Regions from separate parts of the Homo sapiens genome. Here regions 2 and 3 are each linked to region 1. Evidence: promoter capture Hi-C in 16 types of primary human blood cells and fetal thymus (Javierre and others, 2016). All regions are on one chromosome and are shown on one strand. Each heading gives the region's core, a stretch centred on a gene start or on the middle of the fragment in contact. The rest is flanking DNA. Distances are from core to core; before and after follow the strand shown.

Evidence for each region. Contacts are between HindIII fragments. The CHiCAGO score rates a contact against its expected background, and 5 or more counts as called.
Region 2: a fragment that was not itself captured here is called in contact with the fragment with the promoter of NUCKS1 in region 1 in 1 of 17 cell types (naive B cells); the score reaches 5.1 in naive B cells.
Region 3: a fragment that was not itself captured here is called in contact with the fragment with the promoter of NUCKS1 in region 1 in 1 of 17 cell types (naive B cells); the score reaches 5.4 in naive B cells.

What each region holds. Positions count from the first base shown.
Region 1 is chr1:205,748,810-205,751,735 of GRCh38, reverse strand. NUCKS1 (nuclear casein kinase and cyclin dependent kinase substrate 1) reads left to right here and starts at 1,554. Exons shown (of 7, transcript NM_022731.5): 1 at 1,554-1,779. The coding sequence starts at 1,763. RefSeq lists an enhancer at 1,111-1,360 and a silencer at 1,781-2,380. The HindIII fragment of the contact is 8,985 bases long and covers 1-2,926 here.
Region 2 is chr1:206,013,670-206,016,657 of GRCh38, reverse strand. CTSE (cathepsin E) reads left to right here. Exons shown (of 9, transcript NM_001910.4): 5 at 528-727; 6 at 2,764-2,886. Among named protein-coding and RNA genes, the nearest start is that of CTSE, 8.7 kb to the left of the region's middle. The HindIII fragment of the contact is 2,766 bases long and covers 94-2,859 here.
Region 3 is chr1:206,033,669-206,036,583 of GRCh38, reverse strand. No RefSeq gene overlaps it. Among named protein-coding and RNA genes, the nearest start is that of CTSE, 11 kb to the right of the region's middle. The HindIII fragment of the contact is 4,129 bases long and covers 1-2,915 here.

The sequences.
Region 1 (2,926 bases), core at 305-2,804:
CAGAGGGTGGAATGACATGGAAGAGACAAAAGATATTAATTTGTTTAATGCTTCACTGGTGGACTGTGCTATTCTCTTCTTTTTGGGAAGCCAGATTTTACAAAGGGAGACTTTCAGGAGGCAGATGTGGTGTGTTTTTTGTTGTTGTTGTTTGGAAAGTGTATCTTCAATTGGTTGTTAACTGACTGCTCATTGGAGACTTCTGCCAGATGCGCCCAGATCATTAGTCCGTTTGAATCATCACGTCTTCCAGGCCCCACCCTACTCTCTGATAGGCCCCACCTTCACCGTGGGGTCCTGTTAGTCAAGATGCTCTGAGAGCGCACAGCCACCAAACAAAAATGATCGCTTTGACTGTGACAGGGATTGACGTCTATTTTCGATAGCAGACTCAGCCTTAGCCATTCACATAGGAATCCTGAGCTCTGCCTTTGAGAGTATTAGGCATCCAACAAATGCTCACGGATTTAAGTGAAATGATGTGCGTTACTTTCAGTTATATGACTTCGAAGAGTCTTTGTTTTGTTTTTCAAAGTGCAAGGGTAAATCAATAGAATTCATAGGGTCTTGAGCCAGCTCCACCCATCTCTACCCAGGGACGGAATCATCTTTTAAAACTTGGATTTAACACTTACGTAGCACTTACTGTGAGCCAGAGACTATCCTAAAGACTTTTGATAGATATATCAACTCATTTAATACTAATAAGCCTATGCAGTTAGGTACCCTTGTTTCCCATTTTACAGATGAGAAAACTGAGGCACAGAGAAGGAAAGTTATACCACCATTAAGTAGTGGACCTGGGATTCCACCTGAAATACCTTGTGGCCCCTGAGCTCATGCTCTTAGTTATTGTACACCTGACTCTTTTCTTAAAATAGTAATGCACCAGACTGGGACTTTAATGACCCTGAAGTGGATCTCAAGGTCCAGAATGGAGAATGGTAATTGGGGGTGAAGATATTCCTTGATTATGATCCTGCCTCTCTACTCCAGCAGCCTCATTTGGTCCCTGAGGGTTAATGCCGAAGCCAGGGTAAGGGGCTTGTAGGTTTAAGGTCAAATTTTTTGAACCTAAGGAATTTCCCTCCAATTCTGTAGCAGCCCCGCAGTGACGAATCTGCTGCCTCTCCCACGGGTTTTGCTATTAGAGGATTTTCAAGGTGATCAAGGCAGACGAGATGAAACACCATTAAACTAACACTGAGCAACGCTGAACCCTACATAAATCTTTTTTTCTAGTCTTTCTAAGATACGACCCCAGACGAATCTGCAACTCTGGAGTGGAAACCAGGGGGCGGGCTAAGCAGCGACCATTTTTGTTTTGCGGCCGTGCGCTCTCAGAGCATCTTGACTAACAGGACCCCCACGGTGAAGGTGGAGCCTATCAGAGAGCAGGGCGGGGCCTGGAAGACGTGATGATTCAAACGGACTAATGATCTGGGCGCATCTGGCAGAAGTCTCCAATGAGCAGGCGTGTTGGGGAGGAGCGCACAAACCCTAGTGGGTTTGGTTGCACGGCGGCTTTGGCGCATTTTCGGCTGGTTTGATTCATCCATTTTGAAGAGACGGGGGAGCGGGGGGCTCGTCTGTTCCAGGAGCCCTGAACCAAAGAGCAGCGGAGTTTGAGAAGCCAGCAGCTCGGGGTTCGGCAGCAGCGGTCCCATCGGCTGAAGTTCGGGGGGGGTGGGGCGCCGAGCGCGCGGGGTGGGGGGGGTCCTGGTCTTTGGCTTCTCGACTCGGTCCTGTTTCGACAGCGAACATGTCGCGGCCTGTCAGGTCAGTGCGGAGTCTGAGGCCTGGAGCGGGTTGGAGGGGGATGGGGGCGAGTGGTGAAAAGAGTGGGGGACAGAAGGCTAGAGTCCGCCATCCCCGGTGCCGCGCGCGGCCTCCTCCCTTTCGGGGCCCGCGCGCACCCTTGAGCGTGGGGGGCCCTGCTGGCGCGCGGGGGTGGTGGCTGCGCGCCCGTGCGCGCGCCCCTCCCCGCCCCGCGCCGCTGCAGGGCTCCGGTCTGCTCAGCTGCCTCCCCCACCCACCGCACTAGAGCGGGCGGGGTGTCCCTGAGCCGCCAGCGGCCGGAGGGGGAGGGGTGTGAAGTCAGCGCCCCCAAGAGGCCCCACCTCCTCGGGGCCGTCCCCTTGGAGCCAGCGCGGGGAGGCGGGCGGACTCGAGCTCCACTCCCCACCTTCAGCGAGGAGGGGCGGAGGCACCCGTATTGCCCCTTCCCCCAGCGACTGGCGCGGGGGTGGGGGCCCTGAGCCCTCTCTGTAGCGGACGGGGGTGTTCCTGGCAAAGGGGGAGGGGCAGCACTGCCAACCGGCCCCGCCTCTGTCCTTCGGGGTCGCTGCAGGCCCCGCCTCCCGGATCGGGCCGAGCGTGGGCGGGACCCGTTTTTTTCCCCCCGGGCAAAAGTGAGAGTTCGGGACTGGATCCTGGAAAATAATGGGCTGCTGCCTCTCTCCCCACCTCAGAGTTTTGAGAGAGTTAACCCCAAAGTTCGCTCTTTCTCTCCGACTAGAAATGTCCTTCCTCGGGGAAATGTCCGTACTCAGGGAGGTGCGGGTTAACAGCACGGCCCAAATCCCGTGTGGTTCTCGTTCCACTCTCACCCGCGTACGCGTCTCGGGATATTTTTGTAACCCTCTTGTCCCCGAGTGACTTTAGTAATAAAAGGGCTAGGTTCGGGTAACCATCAGACTTCATTCTCGGAATTTCAACAAGTTTGCTATTCCCCCAGCTGTCGGTGGAATCGTCCTATGCCATTCTCCAGGCTATTGTATGGAATGTGCCATTTATGGAGGGGTGTGGTTTAGTCCAATCTGTTGAGGCCTTAAAAAGGAGAGCTGTTGCAAATAAATATTTTTAATGTAAGGAATTGGCTTCTTTGCATAGTGTGTTTTCTAAATAAATAGATAAAGGCTTAGTT
Region 2 (2,988 bases), core at 227-2,726, 260 kb before region 1:
ATCCAGATAGAAAAAAATAAATCTTAATTCCTACCTTACACATTATCACATTTCATATAGGTTCCAGATCGCAATGTGAAAAGTAAACAATAAAGCTTTTAGAAGAAAACATGAGAAAATGTTTTCATGACCTTAAGGTAGGCAAAATTTTCTGAAACAAGTTACAAAAAAACAGTGTACAATAAGCACATGATGAGTGACAGAAGCCAGATACCAAAGAGTTCATATGGGATGATTCCATTTATATAAAATCCAAAAAATAGGCAAAACCAATATATGTTATTAGAAGTCAGGAGACTGGCTCTTCTTGAGGAGGGGCGCAATGATTGGCAGGTGCATGAGGGCTTCTGAGGTTTGGAATGTCCTGTTTTTTGGGAATATAGCAAGCATCTTTGTGCTCATTTAGTCAAGGAAAGTTGGGAAGGAGAGGCATTAGCTTCAAGACAGAGGAAAATCCAGGAGTCAAACCCTTTGCCAGCAATCCCCTGTGCCATTCTCCTGTTCTCCTGTGGGCTTTCTCCTACCAGGTGGAAGGACTAACCGTGGTTGGCCAGCAGTTTGGAGAAAGTGTCACAGAGCCAGGCCAGACCTTTGTGGATGCAGAGTTTGATGGAATTCTGGGCCTGGGATACCCCTCCTTGGCTGTGGGAGGAGTGACTCCAGTATTTGACAACATGATGGCTCAGAACCTGGTGGACTTGCCGATGTTTTCTGTCTACATGAGCAGGTAAGGCCCATCAAGTCTGTGAGGTTAAAGTCAGTTATAACTACAGGGAGACAACACATACACTTGACTTAGCAGTCAAAAGACCTGGTTTAGGTAGCTTGGTCCATTACCAGCTGTGTGATCTTAGTCAAAACATTTAACCTCTCTGAATATTGAGGAAATGGGATTTGCTTCATCAAGTAGCTGTAAAAACACTTTGTAAACTCTACCACACTGGCTTAAATTTAAGGAATCTCTGGGATTGGTTCTTCATTGATGCTGTCACTAAATATCAAGCTCCTATTATATGCTGATTATGATGCTCACACTGGGGACCCAGTGAAACAAGAAAGACAGTACCTGCAGGAGGAGGAGGCAGAAAAAAATGAAAAGCTGACAATAAAATAATTGCATGCTGATGGATGAATAAACAAAATGTGGCATATCCAAATAATCAAATATTATTCAGCCTTAAAAAGGAAGAAAATTCTGAGACATGCTACAACATAGAAGAAACTTGAGGACATAATGCTAAGTGAAATAAGCTAGTCACAAAAAGACAAATACTGTATGATTCCACTTAGGTGAGGTACCTAGACTAGTCAAATTCATAGGCAGAAAGTAGACTGCCAGTTGCCAGAGCCTGGGGAGGGGAAGTGAGGAATTCTTAAACCGTTGTTGATGGCCTAATGGGTATAAAGTTCCAGTTCTGTAAAATGAAAGGTCTGGATTTTACAACAGTGTGAACATACTTAACACTACTGAATTGTAGACTCAAAAATGGGTAAGATAGTACATTTTATGTGACATATTTTTACAACAATTTTTAAAATTGCACATTGTTTTTGGAAAAGGTCATGAGGCTCACCTGTTTCTAGGCACTCTTGCCCGGCATCCTTGGAGGGTCATCTCCTCTTCCTCCTTACACAGGAAGGTGATTTCTGACCTTGCTGACTTTTTCCAGCTCAGACCTGGCCTGCGTTCACACTGTTTCAGCATAAGCCCATTCCTCTCATTCCCCTCTCCCACATGGAGGGTCCTGGATTTTCCCTATCAAGCTATGTTTCCTCTCCAGCATGACAGCACTCAGGACCAGGCCTAGGAAGAGCTGTGAGTAAGAGAGGCAAGTTGTCTAGACACCTCTGCTTCCCCTTGCAGAACTTCCTTCTCCCGTCGCCTGGGAAAAGTGGGCTGTAATGGAGAATATCAAGGCTTGGCAGTCAGACTGGCCTGGATTTGAATCCTGCCACTTACATTGCTTCATCTCACTGAGGCTCAGTTTCTTCCACGGACCACTAGGTTGATGTGAGTTAAATAAGTTTAGACAGATAAAATCCCCACTACACGGCCTTGCACCAAGGTAATCAACAAATGTGAGTTCCTTTCCCCACTCCCTCTGTAAAACCACTGTCCTAAAATTCCTACAGGTATTCACTCCTCTCCCTCTTTACCACCCTGATTTCAGTTTTGTATCTTTCTGATCCTTTTCCTCCTCAAAATGAATCTGTCTTAGGTCCTATTTCTCCAGAGTCCTGCTAGGTTCCAGAACATAATCTGAGAAATCAATACCAATGAAAATAAGTTTTCAGGCTCTAGTAAGTCATGATACATTCATATTAGCCTCTTTGCCTTAACATAAGGAGTGAATAACACAAAAACGCCAGGCACTGTCACAACCATAGTGGGGAAGATACTTTGGGAAAAGGTGTCTTTGGGGGTTGCTTCAAGCCACACAGTGTATACCCACCCAGGATGGTCCTGGCCTTGGTTCTGAATGACAGACCTGCTGGCCCCATTTCCCACCTCCTTAACCTTTTTATCCAAGAAGCAGAAACACATTCACAAATGGTCAAGGGGAGTTGTTTCTAACCTTGTGTCAAAAAGGCCCAGACCAATTCACTTGCAGTAGTCAGAGTCCCGGTCTCAAAGCCCAGACTGATGTTTCTGCCTACCTGTGTGCTTGGCATGAGACCAAGAAGCAAAGGGTCCTAGCTGAGGCTCACCCCTAGAGTTTTGCAGTGGCCCTTCCTGGACAGTTTGTCTTTCTCTCCATGTAGTAACCCAGAAGGTGGTGCGGGGAGCGAGCTGATTTTTGGAGGCTACGACCACTCCCATTTCTCTGGGAGCCTGAATTGGGTCCCAGTCACCAAGCAAGCTTACTGGCAGATTGCACTGGATAAGTGAGTATTCCCCATGAAGTAGTGACAGTACTAGGGGTAAACTGAAAAGAGGCACAACTCAAACCGATTTAACTGAAAAACCACTGGTCACTAGCAGAGGAT
Region 3 (2,915 bases), core at 66-2,565, 290 kb before region 1:
TTTTTCTTTTTCTTTTTTTTTTTTTTTTGAGATGAAGTCTTAGTCAGCCAGGATGGAGTGCAGTGGCTTGATTTTGGCTCACGCAACCTCCACCTCCCAGGTTCCAGCGATTCTCCTGCCTCAGCCTCCTGAGTAGCTGGGACTACAGGCGTGCACAACCACACCTGGCTAATTTTTGTATTTTTAGTAGAGATGAGGTTTCATCATGTTGGCCAAGCTGGTCTTGAACTCCTGACCTCAGGTGATCCACCTGTCTCGGCCTCCCAAAGTGCTGGGATTACAAGCATGAGCCACTGCACCCAGCCTGAATTTCTTTACCTTAGAACAAAGGGTGCAATTATAGGGAAGGCTTAAATGACATGATCAACACATTTGCTAAGGAATATCAGTGATTGGACAAATACAAAATACCCAGGAGATCCTGCTGTGACCAATAAAAGATTCCGAGGGCTTTAGACGCCCAGTAAGAAGGGCATCTCTAGTCTGATTAGAGTTTAAAGGGAGCAAGAAAGGATGGGAGAGGGGAGGCCAGCGCAATATAAACCAGAGATGTTCAGTAGAAACAACACAAGCCACATGTGTAATTTAAAATGTTTTAGTAGCCGCACTTAAGAAGTAAAAACAAGCATGTAACAGTAATCTTAATAGTACATTTTATTTAACCCAATATATCAAAATGCTATTATATGAACTTGTTCTCATTTAAAAATTATTAGTATTTTTTGTTCTTTTTTCCTACTGAGTCTTCAAAATCAGGGTATATTTTACACTTGGAGTACACTTCAATTCAAGTTCTCACCATCCTGGACAGCACAGGTGTAGAAGTGTAGGTAAATCCCCATGTCCATCCACTGTGCTGGGTGTTGGGGGACCAAAAAGTCTAGATTAGAGCATGGGTTTACCCTCAAGGGACTCTGTATCTAGTTAGGGATCTAGAACAGATGGAGAACATTCACCCAGCAATATACATTTGCGTGTAGGTTCCCACACTGCTTATCATAAGATACTTAACCTGCAGCTCAAGCCTTTTCCTATAAGCCTTAGACATACCCCAAGCACAATATTCCTTCCCATTGTCCACACAAGCAGTTGTCAGACGATGTAATCGATTTGGGGGTTTGGGACATATAGCACCCTAGAAAACCATTCAAGGGAAGAGGGGGATGCCTTGCTTTCTAATCCCTTTAGACTACAGAGTGCCCACTTTATATTATGTGAGCCCAAATTCCAGACAAGTAGGAAAGAAACTGAAAGAGAAGTCTCAACCCTGCACAGAATGTTTACCTGTCTCCTGGAGCGGCAGCGGCAGCGGGAGGAGCCATCCATGTTGAAAAGGCAGAGTCTCTCACTGCCAGCTGCACCCACCCTGCCCAGTCTCTTTCCCTTGCCCCTCCCTTGAGAGCCTCTTCATTTCCTCCACTGCCTGGCTCAGCTCACAGGGAGACTCACACCGCCCCAAAATGAAAAGCCAGTGGCTGATGTGGCTTGTAGAGCAATTTTCATGCTGTGCAGGCATGAGCCTCGGCAAAACCAGACATTGAAGTTTGCTTTAGATTCCCTAGCATTTTCTGGAAAGCCCTTTCCCCCTTTCTGCAACCCCATCCCTGTAGACTCATCTCAGATAATGCAAAAACCAAGCTATGTGCTGCTGGTCGGGGAAACAACAAGTTTAAGGAAAAACCAGGTTCTTCCTCAGCTATTTCTGCTGAGACACGAATTCATAGTAAGGAGTTAATACTTTGTGGGCCATCTTTCGCAGGGATATTTGCATTTTTTAAAGACTGAATAATAATTTTAAAAAAGAAGAACTCAAATGTATTGAGTGCTTACTAGCTAGTGGGCACTGTGCTAAGAGGGTGATGCCTCACTCCAGGGAATGACCGGACAATGGTAGGATTTCAAGCAAGGTGGCACAGGCGGAACAGAGGTATCTTCCTGGTGCTTTCAGTAGACAACTCCTATGTGACCCTAACATGAGGAACAGTCTGTGGAGGATATAAAAGAGCTGCACTTTTTTTCCCCCTTAACTTTTACATTTTAGCACCATTTTCTTTGTTTATGGACTGAGGGCAGAGGAATTAAATTTGTTTTCATCCATCCATTCACTCGCTCATTCACTCAACAAACATTTATTGAGTGCCTACTCTGAGCCAGGCATTGGACTAGGTGCTGGGGGTACAGCAATGATCAAGATGGGTGAAGCTCTGCTGTCATGAAACTTACAATACAGTGGGGAAAGACAGGCAATAAGCAAAGAAACAAAACAAGAGAATTACGGACTGTGATCATCCTATAAACCAAATGAACAAGAGCGTGTGATAGAGGCAACTAGGGAGTAGGATGGAGGCTCTTTAGATCCAGGCTGCGTGGGGAAGCCTCCTGGAGGAGGTAATGGGGTTTTTCTGCATCCCCACTGGTGCTCCTTCTTGGCCTCCTTGGCTTCCTCTTCTTCCTTCACCTACCTGCAGTCTTCAGAGCACAGTCCTGGGGCTTCTCCTTCTTCTACAAACTCTCTCTGGGTGCTCTTGGCCAGTTTCATGACTCTAACCACTTTCTATTCACTGATAATCTCCCAAATTAATATCTCCAGCCCTAACAAGCCTATGACCACCAGACCCACACATTCAAGGGTCAAGCTGATATCACCCCTGAAAAGTCTACTGGCATCTCAACTTAATATGCTCAAACAGGCCTCTCGACTCTCTGCTCCCTCCAACCTGTTCCTGCTGCCTCAATCCCTGTACTCCGTAAATTATCTACCTGACGGCGCAAATGAAAAAGCTGAGGAGTCACTATTTTTTCATTGCATTTTAAATTGTTTTTGAATAAGTAATTGTGATGGGCAGAATAATGGCCCCAAAACATGCTCATATCTAATCCCTAGAATCTGTTAATATGTGACTTTACATGGCAAA